2 separate regions of the Homo sapiens genome follow, and region 1 is linked to region 2. The links are contacts of gene promoters, found by promoter capture Hi-C in blood cells and fetal thymus (Javierre and others, 2016). All regions are on one chromosome and are shown on one strand. The core of a region is centred on a gene start or on the middle of the fragment in contact, and the rest is flanking DNA. Distances in the headings are between cores, read along the strand shown.

Region 1 (7,511 bases), core at 2,146-4,645, 490 kb after region 2:
CCTTTTCATATTAAACCTTAGAATAATAGAATGTCAAAGGTGAAAATTAGATTTTGTGGTTGAACAACTATTGCTTATTTTCTTGCCTTTATATCACATTAACCTTTCTGGTTGCTTAATTAATAAATTGTTGCAAAACTCCCAGTTCCTAAGGTAATAAACTTGATACAGCATACTAATTTTTCATTTTTTCCCCTGAGAAATCTGGTTATCTCATTGTCTTCCCCAAATCCTTCTTCAAAGTGCTATGGGATAGACTTACTCTTCCTACTTTGAAATACAGAGATGACACTAAGAATTAGAAGCAGTGTCCAGTTTATGTGAGTAACAGAGCTGTAACAATAGGCCCCACTTTGCCAAATTTCCATAAGAGTAAACATGACTCTAACTATGCTATTTCAGTCATCTTTATCCTTCCATTCATTCTGAAGTTTGTATAATGCTAAAAGGCACATGCTTATATCTTTTTAAAAATATGTATTTTATTGCTGTAAAATAATAGTCTATTGAATAGACAGAACAGTCCTTTAGAAGTATAATAAAATATAGTAATATAAAAATCCTTCATATTACCAGTAGTTCTAGATTTATAGGCCCCTGGGGAGCTCACTTTCCCTTGCTGTCATAATTGTGAATCTTTTGCCCATACCCCTTAGATTCGACTCTAACTTTTCCAACCCTTCTTCCAGCCTTTGTGACTTGCCACAGGTCATGGGAGAGAAGAGCGGGTGGGGTTCCATTTGTATGTATCCTCCCAGTACTTCTATCTTTTACATTTTACCACTAGGACTAGCCGGTGGTGTCCTCTGTTCCCCCATGTCACCTCTTCCATCTCCCACTCGGGCATCTTGTGTGCAATGCCCAAATAGTGTGTAACTTTAGGAACAGAGGAGTGTGTTAAAAGCTAGAGGTGAGGAAGGGGAACTGGGAGAGGAGAAAGAAGACCATATATTTTGGGCAGCCCTGGTTGCAATTGTTTCTAAATCAGCACTAAAAAGTTTGCTTAAGATGTTCTTCAGATACGATGCTATGATAGTGTAGAACCTACTATTCTATGTGAAAATGTTTTCAAAGTCCACAAACAGACAGTATTTTAAGTAAAATTTTAGAAAGCAATCCACCTGTAAATTGAAGATTTTAATGAAAATAAAGGAGGAGACACTGTGGCTTAGAGTTAAGGCATATGCCTAAAGTTAAAATCCCAGCTTATGTACTAACTGGATGTATGAACCTTGACAAGTTATTCAAGCTCCATAAATTCATTTTTCATATTCATAAAATGGTGATGATAAAAGTACTTATAATTACCTCATAGAATTGTTGGAGGATTTAGTTACATAATGGATATAAATGCATATAATGTGAACATTTAAGCAATAAATATTCACATTTCCTGAGAAAAATATATAATATTAAATAATGCCTGGACAGGTGGAGATCTAAATCCAAACTTTATTTCAGAGCTTAACTTTTGATTCTGTGTTTTATGTTTTAAAGTACATTATAATTTAGTAAAGCTGTTTTCTGAGGGTATTTAGTGAGAAAGGTGATCATTATGTAAGTGAAAGATTTTTTATATCATCTTCCTCTTCTCCCTGGAAGAGATGATAAAATCAGTCCTCGGCCTTGATGTGAACATCGCATACCTTGAGTTGGTGTTAACAAATTTTCTTCAACCTTTTTTCAAGCAGTGTCAGCTAAATGGTGCCATTTGCTTATCACTCTTCTTTTTGGTTATTTATCCTAAAGATAAGAACATTAGTAAGCCGTAAATGCCCATTTTGTAAAAACTGCATAGCTAGACAGATTTGCAATCCCTATTAGGGTAATAATCCATCTGTTATGGAACTGGATCAATTTTGTAAATTAAATAGATTAAAAAGGGGGAAAAAGGGCCATGACTTTTCCCACAGTAAGCCTTTTCTCAAATGCTAAAAAGATTTGGGAAGACTCAAACTATTTGCCATTCTTCCTCTCTTTGCTTAACTCAGAGAGAAGGCCAAATATCTATTAAAAAGAGGGGTGGGTGCAGTTGTTTTTTTTTTTAATTCTTCAGGGTCTGATTGCTCCTGGAAGTTTCATATTTTTGACAGAGTTTATTGTTAAAACCTTTTGATGACTACCAGAACATTTCTGCTGTTCTCACTGATCAGTTTAGTAAATGTGTGACTATGTTTGAATTTTCTTCTGCACTTAGCTCACTTTACTGTTACTTTCATCCTGTCTGTTCAAAAAAAAAAAAAAAAATCTCCTGATGATTCTTCTAACAATGTGTGATTGGAATAATAACTTCACATGTTGAAGAGTTTTGTGCTGCAGCTGAGAGGCATGTAAATACAAGCTGCTTATTTGCAAGAAGCTTCCAGGTTTGCAATATGATTGCTATGGAAACCACATAATGAAAACCTTATAACCATCTGTGTGGTTTGATGGATTTTACTGCATAGCTGAGCTGTTTTTGTTTACTGTTATTAAAATGTTGAATGGAATATATTAACTCACAAACATTGACTACTTGAGGTATTAATTAGTATTGTACAATGACATTGTGCCTCAACACCAAAATAATACATATTTAATAATAAACCTAAATAAAAAAATATGTGAATGTATATATTTCTAATATATTGTGAAGGTGATTATTGCCTAGAATTTTGGTCACTTGTTCTTACATATTTTTAAGAGCTTTATTCTATTAATAAATGAATATGTTAAGATTTATTTGTATGATTTTTTTAATCCATTTGTTTATTCTGTATTTATCGAACATCTCCTTTGTGCCAAGTTCTATTCAAGGTTCAGTCTGAGGTTTTTTTCCCTGCCTAAGATTCAAAAACATACACCATATTTGATTTTGTTATCTTTTATATGGAAGCTATTTGTATTGTTAGCCAAGATAAAATGAGTTGTTTAAATATTGTTAAGAAAAATTGATATATTAAATGCATAAAGCTTTGGTTTAAAAATATCGCTACCAGGTTTAAAATGGAAAAAGGAAGTGTCCTTAATGAGCATCTCATCCTCTAAAATCTGCTTATTAAATGGCATCTTACATGGATTTCAATTTGGATATTTTATAGTAAACATTAATTCTTAAGTAAATACTTTTAATATCATTATTCTGATAATTTAAGAGTGCATATTTCTAAGAACAAAGCTCTCTGACACCAATATACAATCCAGAGCACATGTTACTGGCACTTAAGTTTTAATAAAATAAAAAATTCATAGTAACAAATACTTCTAAATTCATTGTTAACTTTGTCAAAGAGCAGAGTTTTTTCATTAAGTCTTGTAATGAATTTTTATATGTTCATGCTGATTTGGGTGGTGAAATCTAAATCCCACAGTCTCTTTTTTTTTTTTTTTTTTTTTGAGATGGAGCTTCACTCTTGTCGCCCAGACTGGAGTGCAGTGGCGCGATCTCAGCTCATTGCAACCTCCGCCTCCCAGGTTCAAGCGATTCTCCTTCCTCAGTCTCCTGAGTAGCTGAGATTACAAGCGCCTGCCACCATGCCATGCTAATTTTTGTATTTTTAGTAGAGACGTGGTTTTGCCATGTTGGCCAGGCTTGTCTCGAACTCCTGATCTCAGGTGATCCACCCGCCTGGGCCTCTCAAAGTGCTGGGATTACAGGCGTGACCGACCATGCCCAGCCCCCACAGTCTCTTCTTAAAAGCCACTAATAATACTTATTGTATTGATGCGGTTATAGCTTTTGACTGAGGACGAGTGCCTTTATCCATTTTTTAATTTATTTCTTACTATTGAATTTGTGACTAAATTAAAAGGGGAGTGGGTGCTATGGAAAGAAAGTGTGAAAAGTAAGGAAAGCTTTCTCCTTCACCTTTTACCAAATTATCTGTCAATAAAATGAGTAGGTTGGAATAATGACTGTAAACGTTCCTTCTACCTTTAAAAATTTATATGGAAACACCCTATTAACCCATTTATTAAAGCTAGCCTTTAAGGTTTGGCATAAGTGAGATAACTATTGTTAAAAAGAAAAGAGACAGGATACTTTTTAAAAGAGTGGTATACTTTTATTAGGTCTTCTATATATTTGACTGAACCATATTAAATTGTCAGTGTTATGTTTAACAATATGAATAAAATGCCAGATATTTTCAGGTGTCCCTTATATTGGAGTTGTCATTATTTTGTTTGAATTGAGTTACAGAAATTCAGAACAGTTCTATTTGTCGTGTAAGTACAGCTACCCTCTCAAGCTTGGTTGAAATGCTGATTTTGATTCATCCCCATTTAACATTTTCAGGAGACTCCTAAATTTCCACCTGTAGTCCTGACTGCTCTACCATACTTTGCAGTTGCCCAGACATGTTCTCTGGGTTGCCTCACCAATACATTAAATTCCTCCTGTTGAAAACACAACTCTTTGTGTTCCCCAGTAAGATAGATTATTTTGGCTATCCTCCTTTTAGTAATAATATGTCCATTTCTCAGTTAACTAAGCTCAAAACCTTAGCCATCCTTTGTTGCTCTTTTCCCCCCCCTCATTCCTCCACATTCAGGCACAAAGCTTATCCATTCTAGTTCCTTTACCTCTTATAACCATCTCCTTTCCATTTCCTTTGCCCCTTCAGTTCAGGACTTCCTTCCCCTTTATCCACAGTAGTCTCTCTCCCGCCCCTTTTTTAGGCTGTCTGAGACAATGGGATCAGATGTCCATTCCTGAAGCATAGCTTCAGTCCTGCCCTTTCTCTGCTCAAAAAACCTTCGAAGGCTCTTATTGCCCACCAAATAAAAGCCTGCAGTCCATAACAAGATGTTCATGGCCCCTCAACAGCTGGTCCAAACTATGAGCGTAACTCCTACCCAGCTCTTCCCCTATGTGTACCAGATTCTTTAGTCAAAATGAATATGAACATGCCTTTTTCTTTTAAAGATCATACCTATCCCTCCGGAAATATCCTTCTTATCCTCTCTCCTTATTTAAACTCTCTCCATCCCTTGGAGCCTCCGTGGTACTCCCTAGTTGGGGGGTTTCTCTGCTGCACTTCTTCAGTGCTTTGTGCATCACTTGTCAGGTTTAGGCCCCTTCAGCCTGTTTTCCTTTAGAGCTTGTCTTCTGTCCCATCTGTGCTGTCAGCTTCCTGTGAGCAGAGGCTTCCTGTTACTTTTACCTCCTTGGTAGATCTCTTCTGTCTCACAGTTAGTTAATATCCAATGAAGATTGATTGACTGATTGATTGAATAGTTACAATGACTACATTTATATATTTTGCATATTTTTCTTTAAAGTTTTAGGAGTTTTCTTGAAATTATGATTCTCTTTGAATCCAGTTTTTCTTTGGCATGCCATTTGTTTATATGTCCTGCCTTAAGTATTTCTAGGTTTGTATGCAAATCCTTAGGTGAGGAAAAATCATGTAATAAATATTTTTCTTGGTGTAAATGAATTAGTTTATTAAGTCTATTTAAAGCTCTTCTCATTTAATTTTATCTTATTTCTTTGCATAATTTGGGGAAGGAATGGTATAGGTGAGTGTGGAACAAATGTAAATGGAGCACTGATTATATGTAGGATAAAGAACATTGACTTTATAATCACAAACTTAAGTTCGAATGACACACTTTGGAAGTTACTTCACCTTTTTGAGTCTCTAAAGATAAACTTGTCTGTAGAATGAGGATTAAAAATTATTTGTCTATGAGATTTTAACATCCAGCATTGTATATGACACATAATAGGTCCTTGGTATAATTTTGGGGGAATTACCTCAAAGGATGAAGATCATTATAGTATCTTCCTGTGAAGATTGAGAAAACGTATGAAATTATGTGATACTCAAAAAAATGATTTATAGGTTAACTGCATTTTTAATCACACATTTCTCCTTGCTATATGATGTTTTAGGGACCATGATTTTATATATGATACTCCTGCCACACAGTACAATGTGGTGTATCAGTATAACGCTGGGTGTTACTTTACTGGATTTAAGGGTTTTCCTGAAATTAAGATTGTTCCAGATGAGTTTCTAAAAGTATTTAAAACAAAACATGCAGTGCATTAGTACATATCTTAAATTTTGCCAAGCCAGTTGGAAAGGTTGCTATTTGGAAGTAGCTAGTATTTTATTGGAAAGTTGGAAAGTTTGCTATGTGGAAAGTTGGAAAGGTTGCTATTTGGCAGTAGCTAGTATTTTATTTATTCAGTGTTAGATTGTCGAAAAAGGACTGTGAATCTTGAGTTATTTTATTCTTTGAAAAATAATGTTTATGTGTTATAAACTTTTAGTTTTGCTTTTAAAATTGAGTGAGTACTGTAGTGTTATCCCTGAGAAAACCCTTCAATGTGCCATTGATAATGTTTATTTACAGAAGAAGAAGAGGACAGTGCTCCAGTGAAAGTGGAAGAACAAAGGAAGATGAGTCAGGATAGTGTCCATCACACCTCAGGTAATGACTTGTGTAGCTTCTTGGCAAACCTTATTTTGCTTTTGTTCACTTTCATTTTATCCATGTTCTTACTGTTCTAAAGATGTTTACACAGCTCCCCAAAGTTGGCATTTTTGGCTTGGATATCTTATGGCTGATAAGCTGCTTAGTCCCATTTAGGATGCATGAAAACCACTTGAGAAGGATTTATAAAGTAAGCCAATTTATACAAGGTATTCCTTCCTGAATTACTTTGTAATGACTCAATTAGCTTTCATTTCTGCACAAAGGAGATTTAGTTGCATAAATTAGCTTATCATCATTGAGGAAGTGTCACTGCTAAAGGACAGTTTATAGATACAACATGCAGTTGCTGTCAAACCTATAAGAATGTAATATAGACATCTGTGTATACTTTGTGCTTGAGCAGAACAGACTTCTGCCATTCAGAGACTAACAGGGGACAACAAGTTGCCCAGGGGACTGGCAATGTAGACATCTCTGAAAAGGTCAACTTGACACAGGCTCTGACAGTCGACCCACAGCTCTGTCTTCTTTGATAAAAATCAGATAAACTTAAGACTGCTAATTGATCTGCAGCCTGTTTAAATGTTGGCCATGCATATCTTCATTGCATATGATTAACACAGAAAGCAAATGAATTGGGTAAGAAATGCCAGAGTCCAGTGACAGCAGCTTAAAAATTGGAAAAGGACACTAGTGGCCTAAAAGGCTAGGAAGGATGTTCCCCTTATCCATTTCCACTTGGCACATATCCCCAAGTACTAATTATGAATGAGACTGGAAAAATAATTGCACACACTCTGTACAAAATCACATGATACGGACAACTTTTCTTGCTTGTTGTTATTTCCAAATAGCAGGAGATAAACCATATCTGTAGTGCAAGCATGAGGTTAGTTTTGATAAACCAGCAATTATTTTACACGGAAAGAAGAGAAAGACTGCCTTCTTATCAGGACTTTACACCTCTTCATAGCCACATGTCAGCTGGGGCAAGGTCTGCCATATCATCTCTGTGTCTTGCAAAAAGCTAGAGTTAGGGTCACCTTCCCCTCTCTGATATGTCCATACATCACTCTTTCAAG
Region 2 (7,064 bases), core at 2,030-4,529:
GCAGCCGCCCCAGATGTTAAGGACTGCCCAGTCTTGGCCGCAGCCGGGAAAGACTGGGACTGGAGCCGCCTTTACTGCCTTGGGAAGGGGCAGCCCAGGTGCTGGAAGGTGAAATGTCCGCAGGCGGCTGTTTGTTTAGTCTGGCCTGCGAGAGGCAGCCGGCAACCCCCACTTGGCTGCTTTCAAAGAGGCTTAGGCAGCGCAAACTCGCCTGTTGCTGTGCGAAGCTCTCCTTTCTGTTCTGGGGGCAGCGGGAGCAGCTTCCCCGGGGGCCTATTTAGGGAGCTGGCTTTTATCTGTGGCTGAGCCTCCAACTGCGGCCGTTCCAAGCATGCAGTCGGAGCGTTAAAGGCAGGGGCCTGGGCAGACTTTGACGGGGCTTGGGCTGGACCACCAGTCCCCATGGCAGCCCTTCTCCTCAGCTATGGGCTCTGGGGTGGATTGCAGCCCCCACACCTGGCTCACCCCATGCCTTTTCTCCCTCCACAGGTGGCCAACGCACCCGCAAAAAGCGCTGCCCCTATACCAAGTACCAGATCCGAGAGCTGGAACGGGAGTTCTTCTTCAGCGTCTACATTAACAAAGAGAAGCGCCTGCAACTGTCCCGCATGCTCAACCTCACTGATCGTCAAGTCAAAATCTGGTTTCAGAACAGGAGAATGAAGGAAAAAAAAATTAACAGAGACCGTTTACAGTACTACTCAGCAAATCCACTCCTCTAAGACTCCAGCGGCTGGAATTGGGTGGGGGGCTTCATACACATGAGATAATATGCAGATTTTGCCCTTGACAAAGTCAAGCCACATGGTGACTTTTGAAAAGAGGTGTGCAAGAGAGGGATGCATGGAGATAGCCCCACAGGAGGTGGTCTGGGACTCTCTTGATTAAGATCTCAGTGGTTAAGATTCCTAATAATCATTGGATTCTGAGAGCTGTGCATCAGCTAGAATGACAGGTTTGGGACCCCTGGTGGTTCACTCTTGGAGCCTGCAGAGCTGCGGGCTGGGTGTGGTCTCCACTGGGGATTGGGCCCCTGCCAGACCCCCTGGAGACTAACCCCACCACACCCTCCCTCTACTGGGAGCCTACCCACCCCCAGGACCCCTGAGTAAAAAAGCTGTGTGCTCTCCAAGCCCAGTTCAGCTTGGGGACAGGGGCAGGAGGAAGGGGTAGGATTACTAGGTGCCCAGAATGAGGCTGCTTTCCAAAGCCAATGTGAACAGCGGCTGGACTTGGAGGTAGCTTTGAGGTGGAAGAGGGCTGCAAATCCTTGTGGGAAAAGAAATCTATGATTCCAGGTGGCATCAGTGTCTTTCCACTCCTCCTAGCCACCCACCACACTGATCCAGCCCTGAGTTCCTAGCCACCGCCTCCTACAGCCCACCTGGCTTTTCTTTCTACCAAATGAGGGTCTTGGTTCCAGCCTGCCACTCAGGCCCAAAGCCTCGACACAGAGTGGACTGTTCCCTGAGGTGGGAGATGTGGAAAAGCCAAGAGGCTGCAGCCAGGCCACTGGCCCCTGAGATCTCTGCAGGAAATGGCTGTGGAGTGTGGCAGTTTGGCAAACTCTCCACCACACGTAATGAAACTTGGATTTGCTCAGTGTCTGGCTGCAGAGCAGTGGGCCTGGCCAGCAGGTCCCCAGCTTTGGCTATGAGGGCCTTGAGTCCCCCAAAACACCGGGTTCCAGCACCACACTCAGCCCTCATTGGCTCTTGAACTGAGCTTGGAAGCTTCTGGTGACCTTCCAAGAGCCTGAGAGTGAGGTGGAATTATTTTAAAAGATAAATATTATATTATATATATATATATTTCCCTGAAGGAACCAAAGCGAATTTTAAAAGATGCAATGTAGAGGGGAAAAGAGATGATGAAAATATTTAAAGGCCCTATCTGTTTACAGTGTTCCGTGGTTAAACTCGCTCACTGCTAAGAATATTTGAATGTATGCTTCATACAGGGATGGTGTTCAAAAAACTTGTAAATAAAGGAACCATAATCAATTTTCTTTTCTTTCTTTCTCTTTTTCTTTTTTCTTTTGCCATTAGTTGATTTCCTTTAGGGTGTTGGAGGGGGTGGAAAAGGTATTGAGAATGGTCTTTTTAATCTCTTGCAACATTTGGAAAGAGTTAGGGAAATGCTCAGAGGCAGTCGGCCTGGCCGGCCTGGGGATCTCATCTGGGAAAGCCAGGCACCCTCCCATTGAATCTCCTTTGCCTCCCTGTGTTAAGAAATGTCTGTTGGCTCCATTTGTACTGGGAGTGTTGGCCTGTCCTCAATTCTGGTTCTTACCCACCGTGTGTGTTGCAGCACTTATACAGGCAACTGGGCACAAGGAAAATAAAGACGGTGGAAATTTGAGTATCCTGGTGTGACATTCCTCTCCCTGATCGCCTTTTACTACCAAATGTCTGCCCCCCTCCCCCCACCCCCCCAAAAAATGCCTTACCTAGTTGAGGAGCAAGTTATCAGGCCCCTGAGGGGGTGAGAAGGTGACTGAGTCAGGAATTGGCTACAACAGAAGCCAGGCTTAGGAAACCAAGGTGGTTGGCTACGTCCTTGTGGGAAGTGGGGACCTGGGTGGTATCTCAGGGCCTGGAATATAGGACTTTATCCCCTCAGACTGATCTCAGCCCTGGAGAGGGCCTTGGGGCCTGAGGTGGCCAACAGGTCAGACCCCAGGCTGCCCTCGCTCACCTCAGGACAGGTAGGCCTGCAGTGGGACCGTCCGGGGGCCCGTGGAGGCTTCAACAAGAGGGAGCCTGGTCTGGGTTCCAAGGCAGAGCAGACTCCCAGGAGCCTCTAAGGGTGCTTTCTCCCCAGCTCCCAGCTGAGGCTGCTTTTTCCCTTTGGGGGAAAAAAAAAGGATGCCGATTTCCTCTTTGTTTGCTGCCTTTGAACTTCTGCCTTAAAATTGGACATCACCCATAACCTTGAGGAGAAGGGCTGAAAGGACAGAGCCCTTTGTTGCCCACCCCACCCTCTCTTCAGCCACCCAGGCAGGGCCAGAGCAGCAGATAGGGTCGCATTTGGAGAGAGGCCCCAGACCCCACTCTGTTTATTTGTTTGTGTGTTTGTCTAACTGGCGCGACTGGGGAAATCGAGCTGAAAGGGTAGTGGGACAGATCTAGAGATGAATGTCTAGGTTGATAGGCAGACACGCAGACATGAACAAGGGCCCTCCTGGGGGGCAGGGAGGGGGCGGGCTGGGAAGCCTGGGTTTAGGGAAAGACTTCCTTTGGGATGGTTAAAGATTAACCAAAGTCTCTCAAGTTGCTAGAGAGAGTCTAGCCAGGAGGACTGCTCGCGGGCGGGCGGCGGGCGGGCGCGGGTTTGATTTCTGAGCCCTATAAAAGCCCATCCTCCGATGGCTGTGACAATGTGGTCGTAAACCCGTCCGGGGCCGGCCAATTTGCATATTTGGAATGCGCCGCTATAAACCCGGCTGGGGTTTTGCAGCGATTTCTTAGATGTAAAAATGAGATCTCAATAGCAGCGGGCTGGGCACATCCTCTCCTCTCTCCTTCTCTCTCTGCCCGGAGCTGGTTTCCGTCTCTCGGCTCGGGGCTGGAACTCCGGCCCAACCTAGGCGCGCAGCCGCCACGAGATGGCGCACTTCCGATCAATGTCAAAGCCGCCGGGGAGCCGGGAACCCCAGCATGATTCTTGGCCTTTGTTCGCTTCTGATACTAAGAGCAGCACGGTACATTATTTCACTTGTCCCGCTCCCCTTCATAACAGAAAAAGGGGACTCACCCTCAAGAAGTGATTGGTATGGTAATTTAAAGCAACGCGCATTCGCTAGGCCTCGCGAGCGTCGCCGCGCGGAGAAGCCAGCTGTCCCTTGGCAGTGATTTCGGAAATGTGTCAAGGTAAGAGGCCACAAGTTTAGCAATTTCAGTCTGGTGGGGCGGGAGTGGGGAGGTGGCCGATGTCTAAGCAGGGCTCTCGGGAACGTGGCTGGGTTTGTGGGGTGACGCGGTAGGGAGCCCCCACCCCATTGCTCCCTAAGGTTGGAAAGCAGGGGGAGGCCTAAGTAGAAAAGTTGAGGATTTTAGCTCCTTGCGCCAGCATTTCACTCAAGGCGAATCTTTCGATTTTGTAGAAATACACAGAATAGAATGGGCTAGGGATGAGAGGCATCTAGGCGAAAGTGTTCCAGCTGTGCTGCGATAGGGGGTTGTGGGAGGGCAAAAAAAAAAAAAAAGGTGATCGCGGGTTGAGGAAAACAAAGTTTCCATTCTAAACAATGGGGTGGTAGAAGTCTGCGGCCGCTAAGGCGAGCTTATTCCCAGGGGCAGAAGTCCTGGAGGTCACTGGTTTCCTACTAGGTGCATCTCTATGTCTGCCCGGCAGCTTGGAGAAAACCTTTGTTCCGAAAAAGGCCAATTCGGAGAAGTCGCATGTGATTTTTGAGAGTGCCAGACAAGTCTCTGTGTTGCATACTTGGAGTACGCTGTTATAAACCCAGCTGCAATTTCGCAGCAATTTCTTACATATGAAAATTAGATCTTTTGTAGAAGATATTTTGCAAATATGCAAAAATGTATTGGTAAATACTAATACTTTTTTAAAAAGCTGGAACCGAGGATAAATTTTGACGGAGCAATCACTCCATTGGGGTTGTCATCAAACACATTTTAAATGAAAAAATTCCATTACATTTTGAAGGATCGATTCAAATTCCCTCTTTCTCCTATATTTAATTTTTTCTACTATTTTTCCATTAGTTTCCCACATCTTTTTCTTTTCCCAAATATACAGTGCGTGGTGAGTGGGGTGAATCCCAGAGAAAGTAGGCACTGCCTGTTTGTTGCGTAAATTTTGCCTATCATAGTTACTAGTCTTTGTTGAAGGCTGGCTCCCAAACTATGACGGAGCAAAGCAACAAGGCAAGAAATGAGCGCCCACCCAGTGAGCTGCTCTCTGCAGCGGGAGCCCTCCCTACAATGCCAGAGCCGCCTCCAGTTCTAAGGCCAGAGGCTGTTTATTATGAACAAATCTAAGAATATTGCAATTCAAAGGGTGTGTGAAAAGGCCCCAACACTTCCCTAACAGGGGAAGGGCCATCTTAATGGTTGGATTTAGAAAACTTTAAAAGTATGTTGTTTAGTAATAGATTGCACCTGATAGATTCAAAACAGACACATCAAATATCCCTGAAAATGTTGACATTCTTAAAGATGAATGGGAAAAGAACATCATTGCTTGTGGAAAAATTTTCTAACTATGCATAAATGCATGGATATGAGAAGCTCTGATTTTTTTTTCTTTTTTTGCTAAAGCCAGATATGTAAAAGCAGCCTTTATTTTTCCTCTGTGGGACTGCAGCCCAACTCCACCGCTGGATAATTCAGAGTCTTGAAAGCATTGAGAGTGCCCTCCAGATATAAATTGTTTACTAGCAGTTTCGATCTCAGGACCTGGTATCTTTTCATTAGGAACTTGTTTTTCATAATAGTTTATTTCTCACTGCTTACAAGGGCCTACTCAGAAGGAGTACCTAGTGAACTGCAGCCTAATCCTTGCCGAAGGCCTTAATCCATGGGCCTGGTGTTTACTTTGGCCCCATAGGGCTGGCAGGTTATTACCCGGGTAGAAATGGGCAATATTTCCTCCTAAATAAAACATGGGCTCTGGAGGTGACTGTGTAACCGCTGCATAAGGCCTGGTTGAGGCAAGCAGGCACTGAAGATTTAGGTCAAAGTTACCCTGAGGGAGAGGGAGAAATTTAGTAGCTGGGAAGAATGGCAAAAAAGAAAGAAGGCAAATGAGCACGAGGGAGGAAAAGTGCTTGGAAGCCGACCCACACTACAACTGAATCGCTTTCTTCATCTCTTGGGGTGGGGAATCTCAGGAAAGCCGAGGCGCTCAATAAATGGAATATTTTATTGAGAAACCTAACACTCCAGTGTTAAAGTCTAGAGAGCATGGGAGCCTTGGGGGTCGGTCAGGGATGCTGGGGGCTAGGAGACCAACTGAGAGGGCCAAGGAGGCGTTTAACTTGAGCTTCTGCTGCGTTAGTATCCTCTCATTTGAACCAGCAGCAGCCGGCCCGCCTGCAGCCGGCCAGCTCACCGGCAGTGTCTCGCTGCGTTTCCCACTCAGCAAGCCCTGGTGGGAGTTGGAAGGCAGTCCTGGGCCAGAGAGGGGCTGCCATACATGAGCTTACACACTCTTTTTAAAAGCCAGAAGGAGCTCAAGCCCAACATCCCGTTTGGTTTATTACAAGGGGGAAAAAGTCATACTAAAGAAACACATCTGGCTCACCACAGAAAGGTCACTGAAGACCCAAGTGCCAACGCCACGGCTTGCGAGGCCCATAGCAGGCCTCCCAGCTCCTCTACTCTTCGGCTGGGGCAGCCTTTTGTAGCAGATGCGATACAAACTGACTTTTGTAACCTTGGTTGGCACGTGCAGGTCCCTGGATTCTATCCAGCCTAGAAGCCCATTTGGCTGCCCTACGGGGCCCTGACCTGAGCTGTCTGCTGCAGGGCACCCAGCTTGTCTTGCCAGCCAAATTGGCAGGGCCCCCAAGTCCCAGGACACTGGGGGACTCTGGAAGACCCAAGGAAAAGACTGAGGGGTGTGTGAACTCCTTCGAAATGATGGATCAAATTGTGGGAATATACAGATATGCATTTTTCACAGAATGAGTCAAAACTTACTTGGATTTTCCAGAAGGGTCCTGACTCCCTAAAAGGTTAGGAAAGATAGGTTAAGATCATTGTCTTTTACTTTATTTGTATAGCCTCCACTATCTCAAATATATACTGGACCTTCCCAGATGTCGGCCTGGGAAGTTGCTTTCTGCATTTAGCCTGGAGAGGCATGACTCTAGGCCCAGGTCCTGGCCCACTGACCTGCCACGGCTCATTATCCTTGAGGAAACCTCGAAGGTCTTGGGACCCACTTGCCAAATGACACAGCTTTTCTGAGAGGCATGGGCAGTGCTGAAGAGCAAAGCTTCCTTCCTAGGCAGCCCCCAGCTCTGTGGCATTTCCAGGTGGCATTGCTAAGGGCAACAGTCCCAGCCAGTTCCACCCTTCTGGTGAGCAGGGTAA

The links. The method cuts DNA at HindIII sites, captures the fragments that hold promoters and counts their contacts. A CHiCAGO score of 5 or more calls a contact.
Region 1: a contact is called between a fragment that was not itself captured here and the fragment with the promoter of HOXA10-HOXA9 in region 2, in 3 of 17 cell types (activated CD4 T cells, total CD8 T cells and total CD4 T cells). The highest score is 6.0, in activated CD4 T cells.

Annotation. Positions count from the first base shown.
Region 1 is chr7:26,689,197-26,696,707 of GRCh38, reverse strand. It overlaps SKAP2 (src kinase associated phosphoprotein 2), which reads left to right. Exons shown (of 13, transcript NM_003930.5): 10 at 6,346-6,423. Among named protein-coding and RNA genes, the nearest start is that of LINC02860, 55 kb to the right of the region's middle. RefSeq lists an enhancer at 6,525-7,511. The HindIII fragment of the contact is 882 bases long and covers 2,955-3,836 here.
Region 2 is chr7:27,176,454-27,183,517 of GRCh38, reverse strand. It overlaps HOXA10-HOXA9 (HOXA10-HOXA9 readthrough), which reads left to right and starts at 3,279. Exons shown (of 3, transcript NM_001433944.1): 1 at 3,279-3,872. The coding sequence starts at 3,863. HOXA11 (homeobox A11) reads left to right here. Exons shown (of 2, transcript NM_005523.6): 2 at 490-2,361. The coding sequence ends at 722. It also overlaps a transcript of HOXA10 not described here. RefSeq lists enhancers at 1-687, 3,175-3,776, 3,777-4,379. The HindIII fragment of the contact is 5,233 bases long and covers 1,736-6,968 here.